6 separate regions of the Homo sapiens genome follow, and regions 2, 3, 4, 5 and 6 are each linked to region 1. Evidence: promoter capture Hi-C in 16 types of primary human blood cells and fetal thymus (Javierre and others, 2016). All regions are on one chromosome and are shown on one strand. Each heading gives the region's core, a stretch centred on a gene start or on the middle of the fragment in contact. The rest is flanking DNA. Distances are from core to core; before and after follow the strand shown.

The links. The method cuts DNA at HindIII sites, captures the fragments that hold promoters and counts their contacts. A CHiCAGO score of 5 or more calls a contact.
Region 2: a fragment that was not itself captured here is called in contact with the fragment with the promoter of LCE3A in region 1 in 1 of 17 cell types (M2 macrophages); the score reaches 5.1 in M2 macrophages.
Region 3: a contact is called between a fragment that was not itself captured here and the fragment with the promoter of LCE3A in region 1, in 4 of 17 cell types (M2 macrophages, M0 macrophages, erythroblasts and 1 more). The highest score is 6.3, in M2 macrophages.
Region 4: a fragment that was not itself captured here is called in contact with the fragment with the promoter of LCE3A in region 1 in 4 of 17 cell types (M2 macrophages, M0 macrophages, megakaryocytes and 1 more); the score reaches 9.7 in M2 macrophages.
Region 5: a fragment that was not itself captured here is called in contact with the fragment with the promoter of LCE3A in region 1 in 4 of 17 cell types (M0 macrophages, M1 macrophages, M2 macrophages and 1 more); the score reaches 10.2 in M0 macrophages.
Region 6: a fragment that was not itself captured here is called in contact with the fragment with the promoter of LCE3A in region 1 in 2 of 17 cell types (M2 macrophages and M1 macrophages); the score reaches 8.1 in M2 macrophages.

What each region holds. Positions count from the first base shown.
Region 1 is chr1:152,620,338-152,625,442 of GRCh38, reverse strand. It overlaps LCE3A (late cornified envelope 3A), which reads left to right and starts at 2,340. Exons shown (of 1, transcript NM_178431.1): 1 at 2,340-2,609. The coding sequence starts at 2,340. The coding sequence ends at 2,609. The HindIII fragment of the contact is 6,916 bases long and covers 1-5,105 here.
Region 2 is chr1:153,285,054-153,290,158 of GRCh38, reverse strand. No RefSeq gene overlaps it. Among named protein-coding and RNA genes, the nearest start is that of PGLYRP3, 25 kb to the left of the region's middle. The HindIII fragment of the contact is 2,378 bases long and covers 1,859-4,236 here.
Region 3 is chr1:153,229,937-153,235,041 of GRCh38, reverse strand. No RefSeq gene overlaps it. Among named protein-coding and RNA genes, the nearest start is that of PRR9, 15 kb to the right of the region's middle. The HindIII fragment of the contact is 3,185 bases long and covers 1,266-4,450 here.
Region 4 is chr1:153,211,747-153,216,851 of GRCh38, reverse strand. No RefSeq gene overlaps it. Among named protein-coding and RNA genes, the nearest start is that of PRR9, 3.3 kb to the left of the region's middle. The HindIII fragment of the contact is 3,829 bases long and covers 185-4,013 here.
Region 5 is chr1:153,195,666-153,200,770 of GRCh38, reverse strand. It overlaps a transcript of SPRR2G not described here. Among named protein-coding and RNA genes, the nearest start is that of LELP1, 5.2 kb to the left of the region's middle. The HindIII fragment of the contact is 1,093 bases long and covers 2,424-3,516 here.
Region 6 is chr1:153,151,334-153,156,438 of GRCh38, reverse strand. It overlaps a transcript of SPRR2G not described here. Among named protein-coding and RNA genes, the nearest start is that of SPRR2G, 3.0 kb to the right of the region's middle. The HindIII fragment of the contact is 830 bases long and covers 1,561-2,390 here.

The sequences.
Region 1 (5,105 bases), core at 1,091-3,590:
TTGAGGACCCCATTCAGCATGTTCCTAAAAACATGCTTCTGGCACACCTGTCCTAGCCTTTCACCAGCTTTCCACCAGGAATTCCCACTCTTCCATTCATAATTCTGCAGAACTATTTTTTTTTTTTGAGACAGTCTTGCTCTGTCACCCAAGCTGGAGTGCAGTTGCGCGATCTCAGCTCATTGCAACCTCTGCCTCCCCAGCTCAAGCGATTCTCCTGCCTCAGCCTCCCGAGTAGCTAGGATTACAGATGCCCACCACCACACCCAGCTAATTTTTGTATTTTTAGTAGAGACGGGGTTTTGCCGTGTTGAACAGGCTGGTCTTGAACTCCTGACCTCATAGAACTCTTAAAAGAATGCATGGTATTGCAGTTTGTTCAAAGTGGAGTGATAGGCAAAGGGGAAGAAGGAACTAATATCCTCTAGCAGTGTATTTTGTACCAAAGAACAAGCATCTTCAGGCTTTCATATACTCTGATCAAAATAACATTTTGCTTAAAATTACAATATAATTTAAATTCATGATTATTAGAAACTTAATATTGTCTCAATTGTGATTATTTTCCTTGGAAGAATATATAGTATAATAAAGATTATTTTAAAATTCATTACAGTGGTTTTTATTTAGAGGCTATGGCATATTGTATTGTATTATTAGAGATGAATTCACTGATAAATTTATCACTGATATAACTAAAACCAAATAGTAAATAATATTCCATTTTTATGAATTCATCATATACAAACTTCAAGCATTATCACAGGTATTCATTAAGTGAAATGCATACAACCCCATCAACCTCATCATTATCAACAAATTCAAAGAAATTTTAATGAATTACTAACATAATATATAGGATTAAATTCAGCCTTGCACATTTCACAGACAGCCAAAAACGGATGCCCCTTTTTTCCCATTAAGTGTGATTTCTGTTGATCCCACAGATGGAGGTCACATTTTTATACCATCTGCACCTCCCTCCACTCTACCCCTCTGCCCCCACAGTGCCCAATGCCACCTTTAAGATGCCATGATATTCCCTGAAGACACTACCTCTCAAGCCATGGCCCCAGCTCCATTCTTCCACCCCTTACTCAACCCAGGTCCAGTGAGCTCAGTGCAGCCAACATCTCAGGACACAGGGGCTGATTCCATCACCTATGTAAAGGAATCCACAAAGCAATGGGGACTGACACCCAAAGGCAGTGACCCCAGCCTGCCATGTTTGTGCACACTTGTGCTGCGTCGCTTAGCACATAGGATGTGATTTAATTGCTCAGTTGTCCATCTGGCCTTCTGAAAAGCTGTGAGCTAGTCAAGGGGAGAAATGTGTTCTGTTTGTCCCCATATTACCAGGCCCCACAAAGGACGTACCCTGGCTTCAGAGCATGTGAGCTGAATGAAGAAAAAAAAGTGGAACAGCAGCCAGAGGGCCTGAACGGTGGATAATTGGACCGTCATCGAGATTTCCTGCTTCCCTTTTGTCATTCCTCAAAATATGCGCCTTAAGAATATGCTGAAAGCCTGGTCCTTGGGAGTGTGTGGTGCTTCCCCTCCCTTTGGGGAGCAAAGGAGGACACATAGTTGGGCTGTGCATCATAATACCCAGGATAAAAGGGCTGAGGCCCTGGGTTCCTCAGTCCACAATCACCTCAGGAAGAACCTTCTCCTGCCTCCACCAAACCAGGTGAGCGTCCAGCTGGCGAGAGGACCTGGGCTGAAAGGGCTGCGCAAACACGTCTGTGCTTCAACAAGGAGAGGGGAGGAGGCAGACACGGTGGAGGCGGCAGAGAGGCTGTGGTGGGTGGCCGGCTGGGACTGGGATGGGAGATGGGCGGGATAGTGAGGAAGACAGACAAGTCTGCGAGCCACTTCAGGGGCTCCGCGATGCTGCGACCTCTGAACCCCCTTTTCCTCATGTGCGCAGAGATGCGTTGCCTCCTCACACCCTGCGCTCACAGGCGTCCAGAGAGACGCCACCCTGGAGGGTCATGGGCGTTGTGTTCACGGGACGCCTGCAGGGGGAGCTGTTCGCATCGGGTCCGGAGGTGTGACAGGCCCCGCAGGGCGTGCGCAGGAGCCCCAGAGGCCCACCCAGGAGTGTCAGCTGCCTCCCAGGCAGGGGAGAGGGCCGGAGGAAGGGGCAGTATCAGGCCGGTTTAACTTCAGATCCGTTTGCATTCCCCTTCCCCAGGTCTTAGCTGGAGGGCAGACTGAGTTTAGGGGAAGGGATCCACAATTAAACCAAAGCATGAGGAGGCCCTGGCCTGAAACCTGCATTGACACGTATTTTGCTTTGCTTTTATTTTGCCCAGGCTCCCTGACCTCCTGCCTAGATGTCCTGCCAGCAGAACCAGCAGCAGTGCCAGCCTCCGCCCAAGTGCCCTGCAAAGAGCCCAGCACAGTGTCTGCCTCCAGCTTCCTCCAGCTGTGCCCCAAGCTCTGGGGGCTGTGGGCCCAGCTCCGAGCGCAGCTGCTGCCTGAGTCACCACAGATGCCGCAGGTCTCACCGTTGCCGTTGCCAGAGCTCCAACTCCTGTGACAGGGGAAGTGGTCAGCAAGGCGGGAGCTCCAGCTGTGGCCACAGTTCTGCGGGCTGCTGCTGACCTGAGCCACGAGATTAAGTAAAAATATTTGAGAAAAGAAAGTGCCAAAATGACTGGAACCAGCCCTAGCCTGGTGCTTCTTTGCTCCTGTCTCCTCTTTCCTACTGAGATGTTCCTTGATGAGTTTCAAGTACTCCCCCAGGGGATTTATCCTGCTGGTCTTAGTGTTTTCCCTCCTTCTTTAATATCCCTGTGCTGTGAAGAATAAAGCTGTGCTTTCTCGTTGCAAGCTCTGTCCAGTGCGTTCCCGTCTTTGCCTTACAGGGGCTGCCCCACATTGGGTACATAGGCCTATCTTAGGAACAGACACAAGTGGGTCATACACCCCTCAACTCACAAAACCCTTTTAGGGGGGTTGTATATTAGTGTGGGAATGAGGTGAGCAGTCTTTCACAAGGTCAAGGACAGAAGCATGAGTTGGAAATAAACACAGAGCTCTGGAAAACAAAGGGAATGAGCTTACTGGGCCCGTTCAGATCCTTCCGAAAACACTTTGGTAGCTCAGCCCTAGATGGCAGAGAAGAAGAGAAGCTCCAGATGGGAGCAGGTCCTTGGTCCTCTGGTTCCTCCAACTCTGATACTCTGTAGTCTTCATGACCCAGGACCACAGCAGCCCCCAGAGCTGTGGCAGCAACTGGAGCCTCCAGAATGCTCTGTTGGGCATGTCAGTGGGATCTGTGGGCCCATGGTGACTCCGGTAGCAGCTTCCTGCAGAGCTGGAACCACAACAGAAATAGACTGGCAGCAAACAACCAAAAGGATACTTGAGGGTTAGGCACTTGGGAGGGGGCTGACAGTGCTGTTAGTTTTTCCTTTCAGGACATCTCAGCTCAGTGATCCCTGGAAGAAATGAAAAAGTAAATCATTGTTTTCTATCTATCTATCTATCTATCTATCTATCTATCTATCTATCTATCTATCTATCTCTATCTACCTATCTGTCTCCCCTTGTCCCTCACCGTCTTTCTCAGACCCTGACCCTATGACCCTAAGCTCACGTTTTTGCTAACCTAAGGGCAGCAGGGAAACAGGGCCTTGGGCAGGGATGAATTGGCTCAGAATGTTTGCTGATCAAGGTATTTTCTCCTCCTACTTTGATTTAGAATCAGAAAAAAAGGAGATGGGACATGGAGAGTGATGATAGTGATGGACTCTACTCCAAGTAACAGCTCTTCAAACTCTAGCCCCTCAGTAGGAAATTCAATAATTATTCAGTAGATGCCCAGATGTTTTCTGATAGAAGGGAACCAGGAAGTCCCTGTAACACCCAAATATCTGGCCTTGATTATCAAGACTGTTGAAAACTAATTGTCTATACTATTTTATTCATTAATTAATTCATTCAAACAACAGGAATTGAGGACACAGTTCAGATATATGTTGACACAAAGGACTCAGAAATGTGTGAAATATGATTCCCATCCTTGAGATGCCGACTGACAAGTCAGCAATCCACTTATGAGCTGGAATGATATGGACTGTTACATAAGTGTGTGGGAAGTCCATGGGACTTATCCTTTGGATGGTAACCCCCTGTTTCCCTGACAAGAGTGAAGTGTCCAGACATTGTCACTAGTATCATTTGTGGGTGTTGGGTGAGGTTTCTGGCCTGCAAAATGACCTTTGATGGTCCTGTGATGGCCTAGCTAAAGTGACTAAGAGGAACTAATGGGACCCAAGAGCCAGGAGTCCCTGGGCAGAAGGTTTCCTGGCAGAGGGAGGAAATGAAGCTGCCCTTTGAGAGAAGTTGGATCTGAAAGGGAAGCAAGCTAAGATAATGGGAGGCAGAATAGTGTGCAGGCCAAGAACATGGGCACTGGAGTCGGACATTCCCATTGCCTCCCCTCTTTTAAATACCAGGAGAAACCTTGAAGAGTCTAGGGGAAAACAAAGCTAAAAAATAAAGGCAAAATGAACCAGAAATGCTGGAATTAAAAGCTGAGCCACCAATTAGCAGTCTAGATCTGTGACATGACAGACTTGCAAATCTAGCAGTCTAGATCTGTGACATGACAGACATTGCTTCAGCATTTACTTGACTGCACTATTGATCCAAGAGATAGGAATGGTTCAGACACAGGGATGCTCATATCACATTGGCCAGAACGCTTTAGGAAAAAGGAGGGATTGAATGATAATTGATGGGAGAAAAAATAAAGTGATGGACAATAGTGGTAATTAAGTTTATTTCACCAGTGTTTCTGCTGAATATAAATGACAGATGTATACTATTTTCCCATTGCATTTAATTTTTTTTAGGTGGAGTCTCACTCTGTCTCCAGGGCTGGAGTGCAGTGGCATGATATCTGCTCACTGCAACCTCCCAGGTTCAAGTGATTCTCCTGCCTCAGCCTCCTGAGTAGCTGAAACTACCACGAGCCACCACGCCTGGTTAATTTTTGTATTTTTAGTAGAGATGGGGTTTCACCATGTTGGCCAGGAATTAGATAATTATCTGGCATATGTAAATAACTTTGATATATTTTGGTAAGACAT
Region 2 (5,105 bases), core at 1,798-4,297, 660 kb before region 1:
ATTTATCACCAATATTCTTATGGATCCCAAATCTGGAATTTTCATTATTGACTTTCCCTGAAAGGCAAGAATATCCCTTAACTTCATTCCTACTTGCCTTTCTTCTCTTAGTCTTTTTACACACATGTGATGAGGTTCATATTTCAGGGGTGCATTTTATGGTATTGTGGCCAAGTGACCATGAGCTGGCCCTTAGCCCTCCAAGTGAACTTTGGGCACACCACCCTAATACTGAACCAGGCATGTTGGTAACAGTGTGGTGTTCATATAGTAAGCCAAGGGTGACACGTGGAAGGACTCTTATGCTTGATTAGTGCTGTGGAGTCTGCATGGAGCTTCATGATGCATAGCCTTCTGGTGTTTAAGGAAGTTAAAGGTGTGTTGCTGTTTAAAAGCACAGGGAGTCTTGGTTTAGATGCTAGTTTCAATGAAGCCAAGGATACTTGATCAACCTTCTTGGTTTGCTATTCTGTCAAATTTGGGCAACAGTGAAATTCTCTGGGTTGCTATCTAAAGGAAAGAGAGGAAGAACTCACAATATTATGAAGTTGAAGGATAAAATACATATGTTCAAACCGACTAAAGTAAGAGCAAGCAATATTGCCTTCCCTTAGGAGGGCTTTCATTTAGAGATGAGGGGGATGAGGGAGGGATGGACCCACCAGACAACAGATATGTGCCTCACGGGCTCTTCTCCTCATGAGGTGAGTCGGAGCCCCAGAGCTCCGGAGCCCCATTGTTGACAGGGCCTTCTGTTCATAGGCTGTGGACATCAGGGCCTTCTCACATACTGTTTCCTCTGTCTAGAATGTTTCTCCCACCTTCATTTCTTTTTCTGGCCAATTTATATTCAACCTTCAGTTTCCAGTCTTAAGGTCATGTCTTCAGAGAGGAGCCCTCCTTCTGCCAGCCATAAATTCATTCATAAACTTTTCCCTTTCCAACGTTGCGCCATTTAAAGCTTATCTTTAATTCTGTGGCTATTTATTTTATATCTGTCTTCCTCACTGGCCTGTTCCATTTATGAGGGCAGGACCTCCCCAGTGCGTCCCTAGCTCCTGAGTGATGCCAGATACACCAGCACGTAATGGTAGCCCCATAAATATTTGTGGAATGAACGAATAGCTTCAGTATCTTCTTTTGTAAAACTGGGGTTGCAACTGGTGACCTGGGCCTTTTCCAGGTCTGAAATGCTTTGGAGTCTAAGAGTCCTAGTGTGGGCCCTAAGTCCCAGCGGCTGTTGGTGTGGAAGCGGGGTTTAGGGAATAGCAGCAGAAGGGCGCTGGAGTCCTGCCCTGCCTCGCCAGTAGGTGGTGCAGGTGAGCTGGCTCCATGGTCAGGGCTGGGGCTGGGCCAGCCCTGGTGGGTGTGGAGTGGGAGCGCCCTTAGCTGAGCCATTGCCCAGACCTGCCTAATGAGGAGGCAGGGCACCCAGCAGGTACAGGCACAGAAAGGGAGGGAGAATGGCTGGAGATACAAACCTGCTGGGACAGTTGCTTGCTACACGGGTGGGGGGTGGGGGTGGTTGGCATCCTGGTACGTCTGGCCACAAAACTGCTCTTGGCACATCAGGGGCCAGAGTGGTGAGGCTGTCTGTCCCAAGAGTTGGAGGTCAGAGGAACTAAGCCTCCCCTGCCTCCAGGCTGGGGCCCCAGCACTGCCTTGGGACTAGTCTCCTACCTGTCTAGTCTCCTGCTAGCACTGTCCTCATGTATATTCATGCCCACGTTTTACCTCTTTCCCCAAGCTTCCTTCCCAACCCCCTACCACTCAGCAGAGAAAATTGAGGCCATCTGGCAGGATCTCTGTCCACTTCTTGCAACCTTGCAAATGTTCTTGCAACCACATTCCCAAAGCTTCCTTGACATCAGCTTCAGAGGGTCAACTTTTCACTCCTTCCTTCCATCCCATCCTGTTCACATTCCTTGAGCTCTCTTTTTAAACTCATCACTTTTACCTCCTAAATTTATATTTACAGTGGAAACTTTTTTTTTTTTTTTGAGACAGAGTCTCTCTCTGTCTCCCAGGCTGGAGTGCAGTGGTGCGATCTTAGCTCACTGCAACCTCCGTCTCCCGGGTTCAAGCGATTCTCCTGCCTCAGCCTCCTGAATAGCTGGGATTACAGGTGCCCACCACCACGCCTGGCTAATTTTTGTATTTTTAGTACAGATGGGGTTTCACATTGTTGATCAGGCTGGTCTCTTATCTCCTGACCTCAGGTGATCTGCCCACCTCGGCCTCCCAAAGTGCTGCAATTATAGGCGTGAGCCACTGCACCCGACCACATTTTTCTTTAATACAGGTTCAAATTCTGCCATGTATTTATCTCTCAATGTGTGTGTGTCATAGAACATCTAATTCATGCCCAAAGCCAAACTCTTGATCTTGCCTCAAAAGCTCTCCTACCACAGTCTTCCTCACCTCAGTAAATGGCACTTCCACTCTCAGGCCTGGTATTGTGGCCAACTGACCCTGAGCCTGCCCTTAGCTCTCCAAGTGAACTTTGGGCACACCACCCTAATACTGAACCAGGCATGTTGGTAACAGTGTGGTGTTCATATAGTAAGCCAAGGGTGAGATGTGGAAGGACTCTTATGCTTGATTCATGCTATGGAGCCTGCATGGAGCTTCATGATCTGTAGCCAAATGACAAAAACCTTGGGTCACCACTGACTTCTTCTTTCCTCCCATTCTCCTCATCTGGCTGGCTCTGCCTTAAAAATATATTATTTCAGCCACTTCTCAGCCCCTCTCTTGCTACCACTCTGGTTCAAGTCACCTTTACCTGAAGTGCTGCAATAGCCTCTTAATCGGTCCCTCTGATTCTGACGTCCTTCAGCCCTTAAGTCTATTCTCAACACAGAAGACAGAGAGATCTGGTTAAAATCCATGTCAGATCCTGTCTTTCCTCAGCTCAAGACCCTCTGATGGCTCCCCATGTCACTCGCAGTAAGAGCCAAGGTTGTTACCAAGACCTAAAAGGTCCTACATGATCCAGCTTCTCATTTTGTCTCTGACCACACATTCTACTCTTCTTTCTCTCACTGCTCTAGCCTCACTGGCCTCTTTGGTGTTCCTTGACCATCCCAGGCAGGCTTCTGCCTCAGGGTCTTAGCTTTGCTGTTCCCTCTGCCTGCAGTGCTTTTCCCTCAGATACTCACATAGCCCTCTCTCTCATATCCTTCAGGCTTTTACTCAAGTGCCACTTTCTCAATGAGGCTTTTCCTGGTCACCCCACCCACAACTGCAACACCCCTTCCTGCCAGCACTGTCTCCTTTCTTTGCTTTATTGCACCCTCTTTCATACAATGTATTTACCCATTTATCTTGTTTATCTCCCCCAACTAGAATGTCAGCTCTGTGGAGGGTAGGGATTTTCAGCTGTTTTGTTTTCTAGTTCTTGTACATAGTAAGAATCAAAAAAATATTTGTAGAATGAATATATTGAATGCATCTTCACATACTCTCTCTCTTCATGCTCACAGTTTATAAAGATACTCAAGATTCTTTCATCCTGAAACAATTTGGACAAAACAACAACAAAAATAAATCTGTTTTAACTCCACTGCTCTCTCTAGTTACTTTCTAATCTCTTCTTTATTCTTCTCACTCACATCTCTAGAAAGATTATTCTCTTTCTCACGTCTCATTTACTCTGCACTACACTTATGCCCTTACCCCCACTTGGCGCTGCTCCACTGAAATTGCTCTTACTTGGTTTCCTAAGGACGTCGTAAAGCCAAGTCCAAGGGGGCAGTTGTCACTCACTCCTCTTCTTACAGTCTTAACTGTATCTGACACACCTGATTATTTTCTTACATATTTTTGAAACCTTTCATTTCCTGTGGCTCTGGTGGCAATACACCCTCCAGATTTCTTTCTTCTTGTCTTTTCATTGTTTTCCTTAAGGGCTCCTTTCCCTCCCCCATCATGAGGATCCTCTCCATTTGCTTTCCCTGAGTGATGTCACCAGGTATTTTGTCATCATGTCTTCTTAGGCTCCTCCTGGCTGTGACAGCTTCTGGGACATCCTTTGTTTTTGATGACTTTGACAATGTTGAGGATTACTGGTCAGGCATTTTGTAAAATGTCCCTCAATTGGGATTTGTCTAATTTTTCTCATGATGAGAATGGGGTTATGGGATTTTGGGAGAAAGAGTGCAGAGATAGCAATGAGCACACCTAGTAGCCAGATCTTGGTTTCTAGTACCATTCTCTAAGAAATAAACCAAAGCTTCTTGGAGAAATGGCTGACTCTAGGATTGGGAAGAAATATACAATATAAGCTTGGAACCTCTTATAGTACCAGTAAGTAAGGCACTACTCAAAAATAGTAATAGTAAAATGGTGGGGTAAATAAAAAAATATGAGAGCCAACTGAAAGAGTTCTTAACAGCTAAAATCAAACAATTTGAACAAGAACATAAATGAATTAGTATTGGATTATAACCTAGAGCATAAAATAAACATCCATGACTCCATACCAACATAAACAAATAATTGAATAAATAAATAAATGGAAGAGAAGAGAAAAAAGTATTGCAAATAATTTATGTAGATCCTCTGTCCTGAAGAAAGTAGAACGTAACTCCCCACTCCTTAAGTATGGATTGCACATGTGACTTCCGTCCAAAGAGTGCCATGTGCAAAGGGGGAATAAAAGTAACTTTACAGTGGAGAAACCTGACTAATGCTACATTGCCAGATGATCAAGGTCAACCCAATAGTGATGTCATGGTGATAGTGTGTACCCTTTGATATGATGTGATGAAAATGGCACCACCTTTAGTCAATGGCACAAATGTTATAAATATTTGCTTGCACATTTTTGTGGACCTAAGTTCTCAAATCAGTTGGGTAGATTCTTAGAAGTATGATTACTGGATCATGTGCTAAGACTAGGTTTAACTTTGTAAAAAACTTCCAAACTATCTCCCCAAAGAGCTATACCATTTTGTATTCACTAGTAACAAATGATAGTTCCTGTTGCTCCGCATCCTTAGCAGCATTTGGTATTATCAGCTTTCTGGATCCTGACCATTCTCATAGATGTATAATAATATCTCATTGTTATTTTAATTTGCAATTCCCTAATGACAAATTAT
Region 3 (5,105 bases), core at 1,609-4,108, 610 kb before region 1:
GAAGACCATTTTCTGAGCAACTAGGTTAATGCAGTTGACTATTTAGTCTTACAGTTGTCTAACTTGTCTCATGGATAGAACTCAGAGGAAAGGATTAGTATCTAGATAGTGACTTCCTTAGACTACCATTCCCAGTGTTTAGGAGTAAAGGCTTAGAGTCAAACTGCTGGGTTCAAATCCTGTCTACACCTCTTCTCTAATTCTCTGACGCTGACATCTCTTCAGGGTGGTGTCCTAATCTCACGATGGAGGAGATGATTGTACCTGCTGAAGAGAGCTGTTGTATGAATTAGATGAGACGGCACATCATAAATAATCAACACTGTTAGTTAAGGTAGTCATTATTCTTTCAGTTGAGCCTTCTGATGAGCTCTGGACCCATGAGGATTAAGAGTTACACTCTCAGATACATGCCTGAAGCTCTTGAAGATGCTGTTGAATGTATTTACATATGCTTTGGAAATCAAATGAATAGGTAGCAGGGTTGATAATCTAGTATGAAAATTGAGAAGTCAAACCAGTGCACTCTTCTAGATGGACAGCTACCTGCCTCTGAATGGGGCCAGGCCTTTGCTCCACCCACAGGTAGGGTTGGGCTTTCTGTAGGAAGCAGCTTAGGGTCAGCTGTGTCCCCTACAGAGGTCCTTGGCTGAATCCCCAATCTCCTGCTTCACAGCACAAACAGATTATTTTGTCCTGAAAGCAAATCATTTGCTTGGTTTCAGAAAATTCTGTACAAGGCTCCCCTGATCATGAGCTGAGGGTTTCTCTCAGGATTCCTTTGTTTTGAATTAGCTGCAAATGGTTTCCCATTACAATCTCTATTGCCACTCTTTCCAGGACAATGTACAGGTTTGCTCCATGGAATTATTGAGTCAATTGAATTTTGGAGGAAATTACCCAAGGTAGCCATTTTCATGAATTATCAATTATTGTTGACCCATACTCTCTGACTAATTAGGTTCTAGGACCTAGTCCCTTGAGACTTTGAATCATGATATAGAGCTACATCATCTGTCTTTCAACTACGCATGGCAGGAAGGCACAAATCCATTTAATCTAACAGTGTTATTATATTATTAGTATAATTATCAAGGAAATTCTAAGACATTTACTAACACTTAAATGCTTAAAATGTTGCAGTTGTACTGAGATTTGAATGTTGCCACTCATTAAGGATTGAGCTTACTTAGTGCTTGAGCCCATGGCTGATTTTGACCTGTAGAGATTGAATTATATTTTGTTTTTGAGTCCATGCTTAAGCTTGGAGCTACTATATTAATTTTTTTAGTATTCAGAACTCTGTGCTTTGTGGGCACATACTTCAGTACTTTCATTTTATAAGTCAGGAAACAGAGAGTACAAAGGTCATATATGTCATGAATTAGAGTCCAAGTTGATGGTGGGGGTTCCAAGTCCAGTTTCTTTTAAGTGTTAACAGCTCAACTATGTCTTCAGTGAATTTGATTCCTCGCTCACCTTGGCAATCCCTCTCCTGGCCCCTTTTAAGCTGGACATTTCTCCAACATTGTATTTCTTTCAGCATGTTGCTTTTTTTTTCTTCCTCTTTCTGCCTCTGCCTCTGCCAGTTGACTTTGAGGCCCTTGAGGGGAGTGGCTTTGTCTATTATTTTCTGCATATCTAGTAGCTGGCTCCATAGCAGGCATAGAAGGCTCCCATTAAATGCTTATCAAATGAATGAATAGATGAATGGACACAGCATGCCAGTTTGATGAACGATCCTCACATTTGTATTTGACTGCCAACATTCTTTGTGCCAGGGATTTGCCACTAGCCTGTAGTATGGAGCTGGAGACTGGGCTTTCCTTTCTTGGGACCTTGAACTTGGGTGCTCTGAGTGGGTTCCCCTCTTGTGTCACATATGTATGACATACTTCAGGGTCCCTGTTGAGACCTGCTTAGAACCACTGGATGTCATAGGTGGAAGAAGCCATAAAGAGCATCTAGTGCAATCCCATTCTTTCACAGATAAGGGGGCTGAAAAGACCTCATATCCCCAGCTCTTGTACCTAGCCAAGAGCTGCGATCCAGAGGGCAGTCAGATGGACTGATGGTTTGATTTCATGTGAGCTGAAACAGAGTGACTCTTTAATGCTCTTTGAGGCCGTGGGTGGAAGTGCTGCTTTGCTTTGCAACATCTAGGGCTATGGGCACTGAGGTAGATTTGTCACCTGGAGATTCTAGTAGAAGTAATGACAATTACCAACTGGTACTTCTTGCTGCCTCACGTCCTGCCCCTCCTCATGGCCTGTCACAAACACCTTGCACAACTGTCCTTGTCCTCCAAATGCACATGGGGCAACTCTTTCCATGAGTCAGCTCCACTAAGCTGTGTCATTACTCAGGCTGTGTGGCCTCAGGAATGTCACCTGGGGTCTGCAGGATTGGAGTGGGGCAGGGAGCTGGAGCATGGTTCCCTGGTGAGGCTTTGCCTGGGCCGTGTGAACAGGGACAGGCCACATTCTGAGGAGCCTGGCTCTACGCCAGTTCTTGACCCCTGCTCTGCCTCTGAATCTAAAATTCTCATATTTGAAACTGGGTCAAGGTAAACGTGGGTGATGTGTTGGTGGTAGATATGATGATATAAAGACTGGAGTGTCAGAGTCGATGTTTTAACTCCAGCCTGGGTTAGACTTCAGGTGAGTACTCAACATATGACTGGAGAAACACACTTGTCATATTTTGATCAGGGCTCTTTAAAGGTGAGTAAGTTGGATGTGATTTTCATTTTGTATTTTGTACTATATCTTTAAAAAATCCAAGTCCGGAGAGGGTGAGGACAGAGATGCGTACGATGGAGACCCTCACACTTTGTGGGGACATTAGCACTGGGGATCTTCTGAGGCCAGGGACCTTTTCTTTCTCCTCAAACTGGGGATAACCTTAAGGCCAGGACTGTGTCTCTCCACTGCATTCCCTCTGCAGGCTCCAGAGGGTGGGGCTGTCTTCTTCCTCATCCCGGGGTCTCCCTGAGGTTTGCTATGTCCTGTCTTCACACTGGGGCTTCCCTGGCAGCAAGGGCTTCCTCCAACACCGGATGAAGTCTAGGAACACTTAGGCCTCAAATTGAGGAACCTGTGATGGACAAAAATAGTAGCATGCATTACAAAAGGGCAGAATTGTCATTTTCCTTCTGCCTCTGTGGCCAGCATGGCAGGCATTTGGCAAAGGGCAAGGGGAGGCATGGTTCCAGCATCTGGAATCATCACACTGACTTTGTGTATGTATGTGTGTGCGTGTGTGTGTGTGGTATATGGTGTGAGAGAGTGCAGTGTGTGAACCTCATGCAGGTGAGTCTCTGGGGGGTGACGGGGAAGAGGTGCTCCCTCTTCTAGGAGGACATGGTAGGGGCAGAGAAGCAGGCATGGGCTGAGTAAACCCATGCAAAGTCTGATTAGGGCTTAAAGTGTGTTTGCCATCTGGGCCTGACTCAGCCTCTGGTGTCAAAGGTTCAGGCGAGGTTGCTTTGTGAACAGGGTGGAGTAGTCCGGGTCCACTTGTGGAAACTCTATAAATGGAAGCCTGGGCTTCGGTGTTGGCTTCCCTCCTGGTTTGGGGAAGTGCTGCTCAGTCCTGCCTCCTCCCACTCACCTTCCCACACCTGGACACCTGCAGCCAGGCATCTTTCATGAAGGCCTCTTCTGTCCTAGAGTAGGTCTGAGCTGGGATTTTCTTTGAGCAGCAAACCAATCCAGCTGCATCCAGGAACCCCACAGACTGCCCTGCTTGGTACCTCCCTTTGCTCCTCAGTCCACTCTGTTCTGTTCTGGCCTCTGTGTCCCCACTCAGGCTGTCCTCATCAAGGTCACCAGCCACTCTGCATTTCTTGACCAGTTAGTATTGGTTGACTCCATTGATTTTCCTTCCTTTCTTGGACACCTGTCTTCTCTTGTCTTTCCAGTCTCCACCCTCCTAGTTTCTCTTCCTTCACTGACCGCTCTTTGTCAGCTGGCTGTACAGGCTCCTTCTGCGCTGTCCAACCTTGAGATCTTGTGGAGTCCTCAGCTCGGTAGGGCCCTCTCTTCTTCTCCTTGGGTGATCTCAGCCACTCACATATCTTTAAATACCTTCTATGTGATGACAGCTCTCAAATATGTACATTTTTGGCCCAGATATCTCTGAGCTTCAGACATGTACCCACATATCTCCTAGTCCTCACCTCTCTGCATCCACCTAGTGGCCTAAGCCATAAACTTGGGAGTATTTCTGCCTTCTTTCTCCTCCTTTACCCCACACATTGAGTCCCCCTGCTACTCCTGTTAGTTATTCCTCCAAAACACTTAGCGTCACCCTCTTGTCTTTGTCTCCACTGCTGCCATCTACCACCTTTAGCCATAACTCTAGTAGCAGGTCCTTCCTCTCCCTATTTCATGCTTCCTCCAACATCCAGCCTTTATACATTTTGCAGATGGAATAATCTTTTGAAGCTTTGAATCAAATAAAAAGCCTCTACTGAGACCCCTTCGGGGTCTTCCCGATGCATTTTGAAAAACATCTGAACAGTATATACATGTTGTCTGAGGTTTGATGGGATACATGCTCAGGCAGGTGTGTGTTTATGCCTGTGAACAAACCTAAACAGATGCAGGTGCATATTCACCCTGGCCACAATGTGCCCACCCCAAGATAGCCCTATTGTTTAGGGTCTGGGACCCATCAGTGTCTGGCATCATGCTTGGCATTAGGTGCTCAGCAGGAGCTCAGTGAATGGATAAATGAGCTTTTGGTGTCCTCTAAGTGTAAACTCCACAAAAACAGCACTTTTGGTCTGTTTACTGCTACATCTCCAGCACCTAAAGGAAAGCTTGGCATACAGTAGCTACTCAACAAAGATTTGTTGAATGAAAAAATAAATGAATGAGAACACAATGAGTAATCTACAGATAGGCTTTGTCATTCTGGCTATTTAGGAATCAAAGGTAATGTGTTCAGTGACACTTTTGTCAGTCAATTCACATTCAAGAAAATGTTCCCTCAGATTTCCTCTCACCTCCAGCACGCTGCCATTGCCACCATCATGTAACCCATCATTTCTGTTGCTCTCACCTCAGATCGGCCTTTCCACATTACCCGAGCTAAAGAGC
Region 4 (5,105 bases), core at 850-3,349, 590 kb before region 1:
GTCTCTTTGCCTTCTGGAAAACGTTTTCTTAGAACTCAAGTCAATAAAAGTCAGGGGATGAAAGGAAAAGTTTCAAAGCAAACACACCCAGTTTTCTCTACCTCTACTTTCTAGTTTGGGCTGTTAGTTTTTACCTGGTGTGTTCTCCCTGTGCCTGTGGGAATCCTAAGCATTCTGCAAAGCTTTACTCATGTCTACCACCCTCTGAGAGCCTTTCCTGATTACTCTAAACCAGAAATGAATCCACCTCTTTATGCACTCCCATGGTATCTATTATTTATATTATTCATATGACATTTACTATTGAAATTAGGACTTTCCAGATATTTATATATAGATCTTATTTTTTCCTGGGTTATAAGTTCCTAGAGGATAGGTACTATGCCATAGGTATAGTAAGTGGAAGATGATGGAAGACAAATGATTATTGATGGGGTAAATGTATTAATGAAGGAATACAGAAGGTGGATGTGGGAGAGCTGGGAGTAGAGGAAAATCTCATTTAATTGAAAATGGGAAAAGATTTACTTTGAAAGAAGCCCCCATTTCCTTAAAATGGTGGTTCTGTGTTTGCTGAAGTTGACCAAATTCAAGGGTCTTTAAATATGATGATGTTCCCTTCCTTTCTCCTTAATTTAAAGTTATGTTCTCACACACAGGGGCCTGTTGTGGGGTGGGAGGAGAGGGGAGGGATAGCATTTGGAGATATACCTAATGTTAAATGACGAGTTACTGGGTGCAGCACACCAACATGGCACATGTATACATATGTAACTAACCTGCACGTTGTGCACATGTACCCTAAAACTTAAAGTATAAAAAAAAGTTATGTTCAATCTCTTAACTTGAAGGGGTAGGTTTAAGTCATTTCCTAAGAAGAATATTTGGCTAAAATCAAAAATGTCTCAAATGTTTATATAGGTTTTGGATGCTTGATACCTGAAAAGTTTTTAAAAGGTAAGCTGGGGAGATCAGGAAGCATTTTTGACCTTTGAGACTGGTTCTCAGAGGTTAATGTGACATCACCATGAGCCCCATTGAGGTCCTGGCAGTAGACAGAGGCCTGAGAGTGGAAGGACTTGGAATACCCAGGTGTATATCTGAAGAGAAAAAGTCATTTGGGGCATCTGGGAGAGTAGGTGTAGGGTGGGGAGACTCATCCTTCTTTTTCTCCTCCTTTTTCATCTCCTCCTTTCAATTCTCTTCCTCTTTGTATTTTTCATCTTTTCTTAGAATGCTGTTGAAGAGACAAAGCAACTCTCCTGTGTCCTAGAAAGCAAGGAATTCATCACAGATTTTAATAATATGTTCTTTCAGTCACTCATGGCCCCTATGTGATGTCGATGCATTTCCCTTCCAAAATGACTCACAGTTCCATGGAGAATATGGCCAGAGGTAAGCCCCTGTGCTCCAGAAGAAGGCCTCTTCCTTGGTTTTGGGTGGAAGGTCATGGAAGGCTCCTGGGGGAGGGGATGTCTGTGCTTTGTCTTACCGGACAGTATGAGTTACCCAGGCAAGGACGGTGGACAAGGGCATTTCAGGTGGCCTCTAGGAAAGAATCCTTGTTGGGAGGCTGTTGAAGTACAGAGATACAAGTGAAATGAAAGGATAGATGGAGGCCAGCTTAGGAAAGGAATGAGCAAGAGAATCCGGGAAGAGACCTTCTTAGCTGGGATTTCTGGAAGTTTCCTGTGACAGGATGCATGAGATGACCTTGCTCATGTCATGTATGCCTGTGACTTTGGTTAAGCCCCAGGACAAGGAGACTAAATAGAAATGTGCAGAACAAGAGACTAGATCGTGTTCTCATGGAGGGGAGGTGAGCCCAGTTAGGTAGAGCCCAGAGTTTGACTCCTCTCACTGGATGCCCTGCCTGCCATCAAGTTGATTCATGACAGTGGAACAATCTTGAAATTGACCCCAAAGTCCTTCTGTGGTAGGCAGAATAATGGCCTCCTAGATATGTTCGCCACCTAATCGCTAGAATTTGTAAACACGTTAGGTTACTTGGCAAGAGAGACTGAAAGTAGTGAATAAAATCAAAGTTGCTAATCAGACTACTTTAAAATAGGGAGATTATCCTTGATTATCCAGGTGGGGCCAACATAAGTGTACGGCTCTTAAAAGCAAGAAGAGTCTGTCAGAGTGATGTGATTTGAGAAAGACTTAACTGGCCATTGCTGATTTTGAATATGGAAGGAGTCCACGAGCCGGAAATGAGGGCGGCTTCTACAGTCTGGAAACAGATTCTCCAGTAGGACCTCCGGAAAGACGTGCAGCTTTGCAGGCACTCTATTTCAGTCTGGTGAGACTTCTGTCAGCCTCTGAGCTCCAGAACTGTCATAGGATTCACTTTTGTTGTTTTAAGCCACTAAATTTGTGGTAACTTGTCACAGAAGCAGTAGAAACCTAATAACCTTCCTAGTGCTGGAGGCTCTTGGGAGCTCTTGAGGAAGGGAGCCTCAGATGAAGAATAAAATCTCATTTACCATTCCCTCATTTAAATATATTCCTACTTGTCATGTCAGCATCCTCAATCAAAGGCTAGCTTTTGATAAAGAGGCACTGAGCTGGGCGTGGTGGCTCACGCGTATAATCCCAGCACTTTGGGAGGCTGAGGCAGGTGGATCACTTGAGGTCAGGAGTTTGAGACCAGCCTGGCCAACATGGTGAAACCCCGTCTCTACTAAAAATACAAAATTAGACGGGCGTGGTGGCGGGCTCCTGTAATCCTAGCTAATGGGGAGGCTGAGGCAGGAGAATCGCTTGAACCCAGCAGGTGGAGGTTGCAGGGAGCTGAGGTTGTGCCATTGCACTCCAGCCTGGGCAAAAAGAGTGAGACTCCATCTCAAAAAACAAAGCAAAACAAAACAAACAACAACAAAAAAGAGCGACTGAGATATATGGAGAAAGAACTCAGGATTCCATTCATCTGGGGTTGACTATCACATAGAGTATATGCAATATTGGATAAGTGATTTAACCTCTCATAATCTCAATTTCCTCTTGTTGAGAAAGGAAAATACTATTTCACAGATTTCTTGTGAGGAATAAATTAGACAATGTATGCTCCAAAACTTAGGGCCATCAAGCTACTTATGAATATTAGTGCAATCTGAATCAGTTCAGGACTCACCTCCTCCATGAAGCCTTCCTTGATTTCCCTGGTTCTTCTTGTTCTATGTCCTTTGCTCTGTCCCTCCAATACTTGGTCTTTGACTTGAATTTTTTTTTTTTTTTTTGAGATGGAGTCTTGCTCTGTCGGCCAGGCTGGTGTGCAGTGGCACGTGATCTCGGGGCAGTGCAACCTCTGCCTCCCAGGTTCAAGCGATTCTCCTGCCTTAGCCTCCCAAGTAGCTGAGACTACAGGCACATGCCACCACACCCAGGTAATTTTTGTGTTTTTAGTAGAGACGGTGTTTCACCATGTTGTTCAGGCTGGTCTCGATCTCTTGATCTTGTGATCCACCCCCTTGGCCTCCCAAAGTGCTGGGATTACAGGCGTGAGACACTGCACATTTTTCTTTAAAACAGGTTCAAATTCTGCCATGTATTTATCTCTCCACGTGTGTGTGTCATAGAACATCTAATACATGCCCAAAGCCAAACTCCTGATCTTGCCTCAAAAACTCCTCCTACCACAGTCTTCCTCAGCTCAGTAAGTGGCCTGGCCTCATCATCTTTAAAATAGGAAAGTTAGACTTTCAGTCAGGTCCATCACATCTCTGACATTCTGTGATACTGTAAATGTGATCACGAATGGGTAGCCTGGGTAACTGTGTAACTTTGTAGTGTGTGGACACGTGTGTGGGCACTTTTTCCTTGGTCAGGTTGTAATGTACCCATAGGAAGACCCAGTCTTCTGTCTTCTGCATGCGGCAGTGGCTCACCCAGTGGCTGATTGACCTTAGGTGACCTGTCTTTTCCTAGGTGGGGAGTGGGAGTATTTGGGGCCTGAGTCCTCAAAAATCAATCTTGGTGGCCCAGTATCTGGGGTTGTGGATTAGAAAGCTTTGGAAAAATTGTCTCACCCCAAATCTTAAGATAAGGTGACTAAGTTGTTTCTGTGATCATCCCCAGCCCTCCAGCAAGATTGGAGTTAATCTGATTTAATGACATCTGAGATTTAAGATTTTAGACTTTTGGAGCTGTCATTATTGGGAGCCAGGGCATAATTAGACAGGATCAGCAGAAGAGTCTCAGGTGTGTGCAAGACAGTTTTTTTTTCTCCCATTCCCATCAAATAACTATCTCCTCTGTTCAGATCTTAAAAGTCCTCAGACTCCTCTGACCCATTCATCTGCATATTACAGGGCAATGTCTCTGATAGAGCTGAATGGTGCAGAATTTGGTTTCCTGCAGAGCGGGTGCCCCTGGGCAGCTTGCGAATTCCTGGGAGGAAGTCCACCACTCCTCTCCCTTCCTTTCCTCCTGTGTCACCCACACAGGGGGTCTGAATCAGAGGTGTGAATTCAGGAAAGAGCTGTAAATCACAAGCCCTCAGGGCCAGACGGGACTTGAGAGGCCACCTGATTCTATCTCCTTGTTTTAGCCCCAGCACGTGCTTTAAACAGGAGACACAGAACTATTTATTGACTGCGTTTTTTAGATGAGGAAACTGAGGCACAAAAGTGTCAAAGATCTTGTTCAAGATTACGTGGTCAGCTCATGTCTGGTCTGGGCAATGGTCCACATAAAAAACACTTAGCTATTGTCAATAATGCCGCAATAAACATACGTGTGCATGTGTCTTTATAGCAGCATGATTTATAGTCCTTTGGGTATATACCCAGTAATGGAACCAACCCAAATGTCCAACAATGATAGACTGGATTAAGAAAATGTGGCACATATACACCATGGAATGCTATGCAGCCATAAAAAATGATGAGTTCATGTCCTTTGTAGGGACATGGATGAAATTGGAAATCATCATTCTCAGTAAACTATCGCAAGAACAAAAAACCAAACACCGCATATTCTCACTCATAGGTGGGAATTGAACAATGAGATCACATGGACACAGGAAGGGGAATATCACACTCTGGGGACTGTTGTGGGGTGGGGGGAGGGGGGAGGGATAGCATCGGGAGATATACCTAATG
Region 5 (5,105 bases), core at 1,721-4,220, 570 kb before region 1:
CAGAGATCACGCCATTGCACTCCAGCCTGGGCAATAGAGTGAGACTCCGTCTCAAAAAAAAAAAAAAAAATCCTGCTTTCATCCTTTACTTGCTGAACAACTCTTAGTAATTTACTTAGCCATCCAGGTCTCGATTCCTTCATCTATAAAATGATATAATGTCACCATCATCTTAAGATAATATATAACTTATGTCGATTGCTCATAACATGCCAGTCATATTTGCAAGTGCAAAACCTACACCCTCATCCATTACAGTGCCTCACTAGACTCATAGAATTGTAAAGACTGGGGATGCCCTGTATGAAGTACCCCCCAAAAATGTTTGTTATTCATATTAGCTATCGTTTTTTGTCAACGCTGGCCAGGTGTCTTCATTGGTTTGCTGAACCTCTCTCTCTGTGTCTTCATTTCTGTCTCATTCTCTCATTTTCTGGTGTTGGCCCTATAATCCCACTTCTCCAACTCAATATTTTCCTCAGACCCCTTCTCCATAGCATTTTTTTCCCCTGCCTTCCAGCCAAAGCTCCTGGTGGCGTTCACAGTAAGATTAGATATTTTAATGTTAACTATTAACGGATGATTTCACTTTTGAGTAGGAAGGGTTGATATCAATGTTATTGATAAAAGATAGTAACTTAATTTAGGCCAAAAAAGTCACTGGGCCATTCAGTGGTTCCTCTCTGTGTGTGTCTGAAGGCCCTGTATGTCTGCATATTGTATCAGCCCAGGGACATGCTATGTATCAGCAATTTTAACTCCATTAGAATCTCCCTCGCTGCTTTTTTGGCAAAGTATTTCTATTTTTTTCCATGCCTTTTTCTATCTCTCTGTGTAATTCTTGTTGAACAAGCAGAACCTGCATGATGGTCAGAAAGCAACTCTATTTCTTCTCTTGATGCCTCTTAAAACCCTCTCTGTGGGGCTGGCTCTTCCCTTTCTCTTGGAATGAAATCTCTAGCAGATGCCCTTGACTTTTAGAATCATGCTAAGAAATCGCATGATTTCTTACTTCTATTTATATAAAAATAACTTCTATTTACATAAAAAAAATCTTATTTCAGTAATCAGAAGGTCTTTCCTTGAATGTTGGATTTCCTTCTCTTTCCTACTTGGTACTACTGCAGGAAGGAAGGCTGCACAGGAAAGAAGAGTATCTTCTCTATTAGCTACTAGAAGTTTTTAATTTTCTTCCCTTGCTCACCCAGCTGCCTCTTGTCCATTTGGGTAGGGGCTGCAAAGGAATGAGAAAGAAAGACCTGAAAACTTTGTGAACTGGCATAGGAGCTTTCTGGGCTTGGCAGGTGCTTATGGCTGACCTTTCTCCCGTGGAGAACTTGAATGTGTCCTTCACAGACTCTCCTCTCCCTGCTGGCTGGGTGTTGGCCACAGTTCTTTAGTATAACAGGCATGTCTGCTTTGTCTAGCTGTGCATGGCTCCTGTAGCGCCTAGGCATTGGCAAGCTCTCCTACAGCTTCTCTTGGCTGGTATTCCTCATCTTCACCTCTTGGACAGGATTTTAGACCACCTGGACAGCCAGTTTTCCCTCCCTTATGGCTCATATCTGGCCCATGGGAACCAGATATACATCCTCCCCTTTCACTGTTTATCAATCACCATTGCGTAAGTTTTTCTTGATATTTGTGTATTTTTGCTCATTCATTATATAAAGGGGGAAGAATGTTCTACGAAATCCTCATGGACATGGTTCAGGGTTTATCCTATTTGACTTTACTGCAGTAATTGTTACAGTTGTGTCCTATATTTTAACCCTCTTCCCTTTTGGTCCTCTGTGACATGGGTAGACTCCCACTTACAGCCTCATCTACTCTCCTTCCCGAGCCCTTTCTCCTCTGTTGAATCCTTTCAACATCACCTGCACCTTCATTTTTCACCCTTGCTGCTGATATTATTATCCACCATTGCTGAAAGTACCAGCTCTGCATAGAGAATCCCAAAGCCCACCCTCTTCCCTGAGCTTTAGGTCCCAATACTAACATCCATTGGATGTACTTTGGTACCTCAAGCTGATTTTACAAAATCAGAGTTCAACACCTTCCACATTTTTCCTAACATGCCCCTCTTGCTCCTCTTATGCGCTCCGACTCTGTGAATAGCATCCTGTCCACCAAGACTTAACAAGAAACCTGGGATCATCCCAGACTCTTGCTTCCTACTCAACCTCACACCAAATGTGCTATCAGGATCTGCAGATTCTACCTCCTGAGCCACAGGCTTCTAAGCCAGGGTGTGTTTGGGAGCTGCAGGCACATTTCTCTCAAGTTGGTCCCCCATTCTCTCACAGCCATGGTTGCTGCCTTTATTGTGGCATCATCATCACAGGTCTCCCTGTCTCCAAAGAGTCTCACCACTAATTCAACCCCCACAGCATTGCCGAAGTGAATTTTATAAAACAAAAGCTTAATTTTACTATTGAATTTAAGATGAGGCCCAAGGCTCTTGGTTGGGTCAACAAAACTCTTACTAATCTGGTGTCTACTTTCAGCTCGGTCTTCTACTTTTACCGTAGATTCTGGGGTAAAGCTACTTGCAGTTTCCAAAATATGCTAGACTTTTTTTATTTTTTTAAACTCCGAGTTTTTGCTCTGCCAGCCGAGTCCTCCCTCTCTCCTCCTCAACCTTGAACTCATAGGAAATTCTCCTTGGGCATGATTTCTCTCACCTTCCCAGGCAGTTAGTTGCCTTAGCCAAGCTCATTCTGAAATTTTTATCCCCATATTTTGTAGTTATTTACTTCCTGATCTACTCTCTCACATGATGTAGTGTAGAGATCAGGAACCAATTACTTTTTAAAATCTCTGTTTCTGCAGTGTCCAGTGTGTGTCTTGGCACATGTTGGCCAGGCAATAGTTAATGCTTCTTGTCAATAAGGAGATGGAATAATATTTCAATGGTTTCGCAATTGCTTTTCTCTCTAACTGGAGTATCCCCCTCCTTTTTGCCTTATTGATATTTATTTTTTATCTTCTATATACAATTTGAAAATTCCACCTTCCATGTGGACTGCTCTGGACCCCCACCCTGCTGCAGTTAAGAGATACCATCTCTGAACATGCCTGATGTGCTCCCCATGGATTGACTCCCCACCTGTTCTGCCGGGGGGCAATGCTGTCTTCTGTCTCATACAGTGCCCTAATCCAGGAAAGGGCTTTCTTATTATTCTTTGCATCTTTAGTGCTGGGCCAGGGCCTGACATATAATAGATGCTCAGTGAATATTTGGGAAATAAATGAATGGATATACAAGACAAAGTTCAGCAGGGGAGATAAGAATCAAATAAACTGTCTGTCAGAGGAGGGAGATCCAACTTTATGGAGATGGAGATCTGTTTCTCAGGGTCAGCTTCCAACATGAATATATCTGTATGAGGCCCAGAGATTCCAGGAGGCAGGTACCGCTGGGCTGTGTAGGCTGAAAATCCCAGATCTTGTTGGATTTGTCCAGGATACAGCCGCCATCTGATCCAGGCTCCCAAGCAGAGATGGACTCAAGCTTCAGCGAGTGTCCATCTCCCCTTCCCTGCAGCTAGGGTTTATCTTGCCCTGCACCTCCTCTTCATCCTCCAACATACACACACACACACACACACACACACACACACACACACACACACACATTCTCTGCCTGGTGAGACCCACTTCAGGAGAACTGGGGAGGACACAGGATGGAGTGGACTTGGCAGGGAGGTAGCTGGGCCAGGCACGGTAGGGAAGGATCCTGTGGGTAAATGGGAGTCATTCTCTTGAGTGAAGCTCTACCGGACTCCTCTGTGGAGTCCACATTTTACCTGAGGGCTCCTCCTAAGGTGCCCACCAGGCTTCTGTTTCCTTTTTCCTCCTGTGACACCATCACCTTCCCAGCTACAAGCAAGGGCAATAAACTGGGGGCCCACTGGGGCAGATGTCTTAATGGAGAGAGCAGAGATGAAGAGAAAATCCCTCAGCAGGTTGAGAGTGACTTCTGCAGGCTCAGGGCACAAAGCGAGATCTCTTTGCACAGGTAAGGAAGGCAGTGAAAAGCAGAGACCCATTTCCTTCACTGAGTGTGGGATCACAAAGTCAGGAAATTTGGGGGACATTTTCAGATGATTTGAAGTAGTTCTTGTCAATTTCTTAACCAGCTTTACAAGGTCTTCATATTTTTTAATAAAGTGGGAGGCAGCACTGTGTTTCCCTAATGATCTTCTTTTGCCACAGGAGGCAGCATGGGCTGGAACAGTAGCAGTTGGAATAAGCAGCTTTATCTAATCAAACTTTAGCTAAGATGTGAAAATAACCTAAATGTCCATCAACAGATGAATGAAGAAAATGTGGTATATACACATGATAGAATACTATCCAGCCTTAAAAAGGAAAGAAATTCTGCCTTATTCAACAACATAAATGGCCCTTGAGGACATTATGCAGTGAAATAAGTCAAATACAGAAAGACAAATACTGCATCATTCCACTTACATCAAGTATCTAAAAATAGTCAAATTCATTAAATCAAAGGCTGTAACAGTGGTTACCAGGGACAGGGGGAGGATGAAATGAGTTATTAATCAACAGGCATAAAATAATTAAGTAAGATGAATAAGCTCTAGAGATCTGCTGAAGAACTTTGTACCCATAGTCAACAATATTGCATTGTATTAATACACTTACAATTTGTTAAGAGGATAGAGCTCATGTTAAATATTCTTACCACAAAAATATAAATAAATTTAAAAAGAGGATAAGGAAGGGGAAGGATGGTACACCTGGCCCCCAGGAAGGTCCTGAGTGTACTTTTGTCTAATTCCTGCTGTTTTCTGGGAAGGACCTGGGAGGAGTCACTCACCACCTATGGAGGCCCAGTGGCCTGGGAAGGTCTTCTCCTTGTTGCTCATGAGAGTTGGGGTCTTGTGGGCTGTGGGGTGCTCAGGGTGGGAGCACGAGGGAAGGAGGTGTGTGTGATGAGTGAGATAGAGTCCCCATGCCTCTAGAGGAAAGGAAGAGTCATCTCAGCATGTTCAAAACAGGCTTAGGAGCAGACTGAGGGGTCAGCTCTCTTAGGAGAGGAGGTGATAAATAAATGTTGTAATTGTCTTGATTGAAGCTGA
Region 6 (5,105 bases), core at 726-3,225, 530 kb before region 1:
ATTGGCAAGATACATGGTGTTTACAAAGTTATTCAGCAATCACATGCATTGGAACAAATTGTCATGGAGTATCCAAATATAGGAGCCCCAAATCTAAATAGTCAAGGCTCTATTATCTGTAATTCCAATTGCTATAGGTAGGTGTGTGGATTTTGGCAGGGCTAATGTAGTGGAAAGATGAGATGTCTGGAAAATCATGAAATCACAGAGTAATTCAGTAGAATATTAAATGTTATTTTTTTCTAGTCACAGAGGTAATAGCATATTCTTTCCCTCAGAACTCACAAGATTGTTGTGACACTCATGTAAGGCAACACAATTTAGAAACTAAAATCATTATTTTTTTAACAACTATTTATCTAGCACGTACTCTGTTTCAGGTATTGGATCATGTCCTGAGTGTAGGTGAAGTTGCAGTCTGACTACTCAAAGTGCTCGCAAGCTCAAGGGAAAAGGATATGGGTGGGGAATCCACTTAATGCAGATGGGTTGCACTTAACACTTAATGCAAAGCTCAGAGTGTTTTATGGGACTCTTAGGTAGGGTCACCTGCCCTAATAGGAGGGATCCAGGAAGGCTTTTCATTGAAGTGATGGCTTTTAGAGAATTGTGTAGACATTAACCCGGTAAAACAATAATAATATGGCATATTACAGGTTAGTAAATAAATTCACTGAGGATAGAAAAAACTGGTATGTCAGCAAAATTACAGAGTTTGATACATGACAGCACACAGTTCAAAAAGTGGAGTAATAAGGAATGAGGCTAGAGGCGAAGGAAGGGCTATGTAATGGACCTAGAACTTAAAGTATTTTAAGCATGCAAGTGATGTAGTCAGATTTTACTTTTTAATGTATCACTCTTATGGCAATGGAAAGATGGATTTAAATCAAACAAGATAGAGGAAGACAGCTATATTAGGAAGCTATGGTAATAATCGAGCAAGAGATGAGGAGGCTCTGAACTAGGGCATGGCAGTCAGCATAGAAGGAGAGAGATGGATTCCAGAGATACTTATGCTGTTGAACTGTCAGAATGAGGAGTTTAGATAAGTAGCATGTAGTAGAGGCGAAAATGTCAAGGTAACTCAAGTAGCTGGGTGATTATTGGTGTACAGGATAGAGAATACTGGAGGTTCAAGTGGTTTGTGGGAAAGATGATCAGCTTGTTGGTACTTGAGGATATTTGGACAGAGATATCTAGAGGGCAAGGGGATATTTAAGTTTGAAGTGAGTTCTGGAGTGCAAATGTAGATGAGTGAGTTAGTAGATTTGTGATGACTGAAACCATAGGAATCATTGATATTGTAACTAGAGAATGCATAGGATGGTAAGATCCATGGAATGAGCACCAGAGGACTCCATTTGGCATTTAGAAGAAGAGGTTCAGATCAAGGAGGAGAAAGATTAAGCACAGGAGTAGGAGAATATTAAGTGGATATTATGAAAACCAGTAAGTAGAGACTCTAGAGAAAGATGGAATGATTGGCACTGTGACATGTAGCAGAGAAGTCTAGGAAGATAAAAACGGAGAATGACTCAGTTTATCTGACAGAAAGCTTGGAATAATTTCAGTAGATGGTGGGCTAAATCCAGACTGCCATGGGTTGAGGGGTTAGTGAGATGTGGGACAGAAGAGACAGCAGTTGTAGATGACTCATTTGACAAACCTCTAGCTAGACTAATAAAGAAAAAAGGAGAGAAGATTCAAATTAATAAAATCAAATATGAAAGAGGAGATATGAAAACTGATGCCATGGATATAAAAAAGATCCTAAGAGACTGCTTATGAACAACTATATAGCAATAAATTGGATAACCTAGAAGAAATTGATAAATTACTAGAAACATGCAACCTACTGAGACTGAATCATGAAGAAATAGAAAATCTGGACAGACCAATAACGAGTAAGGAGATTAAATCAGCAATATAAATACTGTGATCAAAGAAAAATCCAGGACCACATGGCTACAGTAGTAAACTCTACCAAACATTTAAATAACTAATGTATTAATAAATTATTATTAAACTTTTCCAAAAATTGAGGAGAGACCACTTCCAAATTCATTGTATGAGGATGGCATTACCCTGATACCAAAGCCAGATAAGAACATTATAAAAAAATTACAGGCCAACATCCCTGATGAATATAGAAGCAAAAAGATTCAACAAAATACTAGCATACCTAGTAGTCCATTAAAAGAATAATGCAACATGATCAAGTGGGATTTATCCCTGAGATGCAAGGATGGATGGTTCAATAAATTTCTTTCTTTTCTAAAAAAAAAAAAAGATGGTTCAGTGTAGGCAAATCAATAAATGTGATACACTACATAAACAGAATAAAGGATACAAATTGTATGATAATCTAAATAGAGGCAGATAAAGCTTTCCACAAAATACAACATCTTTTCATGATTAAAACACTCAACGAATTAGGTATAGAAGAAATGTATCTCAACATAATAAAGGCCATATGTGAGTAACCCACAGCTAATATATTCGAGGGTGAAAAATTAAAAGCTTTTCCTCTAAGATCAGGAGCAAAGCAAGGACACTCACTCTTGCCATCTCTGTTCATTTCTAATTCTATTATTTTTAAATTCTATATTCTCAAAAACTTAAAGGCATATTATGTAGTAGCAGCATATCTTTATTTATTAAAATAGAAATAATTTTATTGGGAGCTTAAAGAACTAGGCTATAAATGTTAAATCAAGTAAAATCAAATGGCCCTTGGGAAATGTCATCCTCTCTCTCTTTCCCCTTTCCTCTTCTTTCCACTCGCCTGTCTTCTACCCTCTCTACCTTCCTTCGTTTCTTCATTTCTGGGACTCCCATAAAATAGCTTTGTCCTTCTTTTCAAAATCTTTAGGCAAATCAGGAACTTTGGGACCAGGTAATTCAGCCTCATAATTCCCAGCTTTACACGGTTGTTTTACTAGGCTTACTATTTATTTTATTTGCACCTTACAAAAATGTCCGTCAGAGAAGTATTATTATTACCATTTCTCAATGAAGAAACTGAAAATTGCAGAAATGTTAAGAAAATTGCTCAAATTTACACACCTAATTAGGACTTAACTCAATCATTGTGTTTATACAGTGCCAGTTTGCTAACATAGTATTTACTCACAGATTTATTTATTTCAATTTTAAAATATCTTTGAACATTTAAATATTTAAACACTTTGAATAAGCAAAAAATATACATGATACCAAAATTCAAAAGAGAAGAAAATGGTCATGCAGTGAAAAGTTAGTCTCTCCCCCACTCCTATTCCCTAGATACTTAACTATTCTCCTGAGATAACCACGGTTACTAGTTTATAAGTAAACTCCAGCAAACCCTCATGTAGATACTATGTGAGTTTCAGAGGTTTAATTTGCACAGAGTGCTTCAAGTGCCCATTATTTGTGAAAAATGAGGATCATCTGTCCTTTAGCTATTTTCTCTCTCTATAAAAAAACTGTCCTTTGTGAAGCTGGCAAACCTCATTAAGCATTCTTTTCTGAAAAGCCCAATCCTCCTTCAGTTTATCAAGCATAAATGATAAACCAAATAATTTATTGGTAAAAATAACTTTGGAATCTATTAGTAATTCATGAGGCAAAGAAAAGTAGGTCTAAAATTGTGTTGATAGAACTGTTTTAAGTCACGTAATCCTTAGCTAATTCTTCAGCATGCATCAGCTATGGTTCCTAGGATTTCAACATGAGAAAGAACGCTGTGAAAGTGCCTCACCCATCCCAGGAGCATCCCTGTTCCTTCTGGCATCCCTGAAGTGTGTCAGTTTCCTGATAGTAACTTAGATGACTAAATTGTTTAGTTTCAGAGTACTAGGGAGGGATAACTAGCCTCATGTTGTTCCTCTGAGATGCTGAGAAAGAATTTAATAGTAGGGCTCAACTCAAAGACGTTCCTACCTCTTCAAATTCCCATGTTAGGTCCTCAGTTTTTTTTGTTTCTCTACTGTACCAACCCAATCAAGTTTGAAACATTGCAGATACAACACAGCATTCTTCTGGGTAAAGAGCACAAGGCAAAAATCTTCCCTGAGAGGGGCTTTCTCAGGAAAACAAGGTGCCGACCCTGTAGGTGCTATGGTACCCATGCCGTCTAATTAGTAGTGACTACAGCTAGAAGAATGGGGGATGCAGGGAAAGGATCTTCACTAGATAGGCCTCACTCTAAACAATGCCATTCTTTATTATCTGTTTTTGACATGTTTGAAATTATTGGTTAGTTATGATTAGTTATTATTCTTATTTCTTCTACATTTTAGAGTTTATATTTCTTAGAAGACCCACTATGTAATGTGCATAATTTTAGGCCACTCTTTGAGTTTTTGTAGGAGACTTTTGTGGTAGGTGTATTTTTTATTTCTGTTTTACAGCTGTGTAAACTGTGTTTCAAGGAGGTTAGGAAATATTTAGTTCCACACAGTAGTGGTGGCTGTAGATGTATGCATAACCAAGGTACTCAAGTTTTTTCCAAGTTGGGACAGTGAGTAATACTAGCTGAAGTGTTAATATGGTTAAATAAGCTATACTAAGAAATTATCCGTGGGATCTGTGCCAGCTATACTTTACTTATTTAGGTAAAAACATCCATGAAGTAAACAGCAGGATAAATAGCTTTACAGAACTTCACTCCTCGAATGTGCAAAGAAAGCCTGAAATCCTACTAAATGTCATTTCAAAAGAGAGAAATTGTGAAGGAGTAAATTGAATTAGCATGTAGGAGAAAAGCTTCAAAATGGATGCAGCACATACATTAAGGCAGTTTGGAAGAAAATGGGAGAAGATGAGTTTGGATTTCTAGTAGACCACAAGTCACTCATAGTTACAAGGGCCACAGAGATGAGGTTAGTGTGTAAATCTGCAAATGTGAAGCTTTAAGAAGGGGCCCCAACATGACTCTAATGGCCTAGAAAACTGAGAGATGATGTTGCCTTGTTCAAGCCCATTAATACCATGTCAGAACACACCCAGGTTGGGGCTGTCAGCATCTAGGAAGCTGATATATGATTTTGTCACCCTGTTCAAGTCAATTAATTGTCAAGAAAAGCCTAAGGATCAATAGGCCATGATAAAAGGGGAAG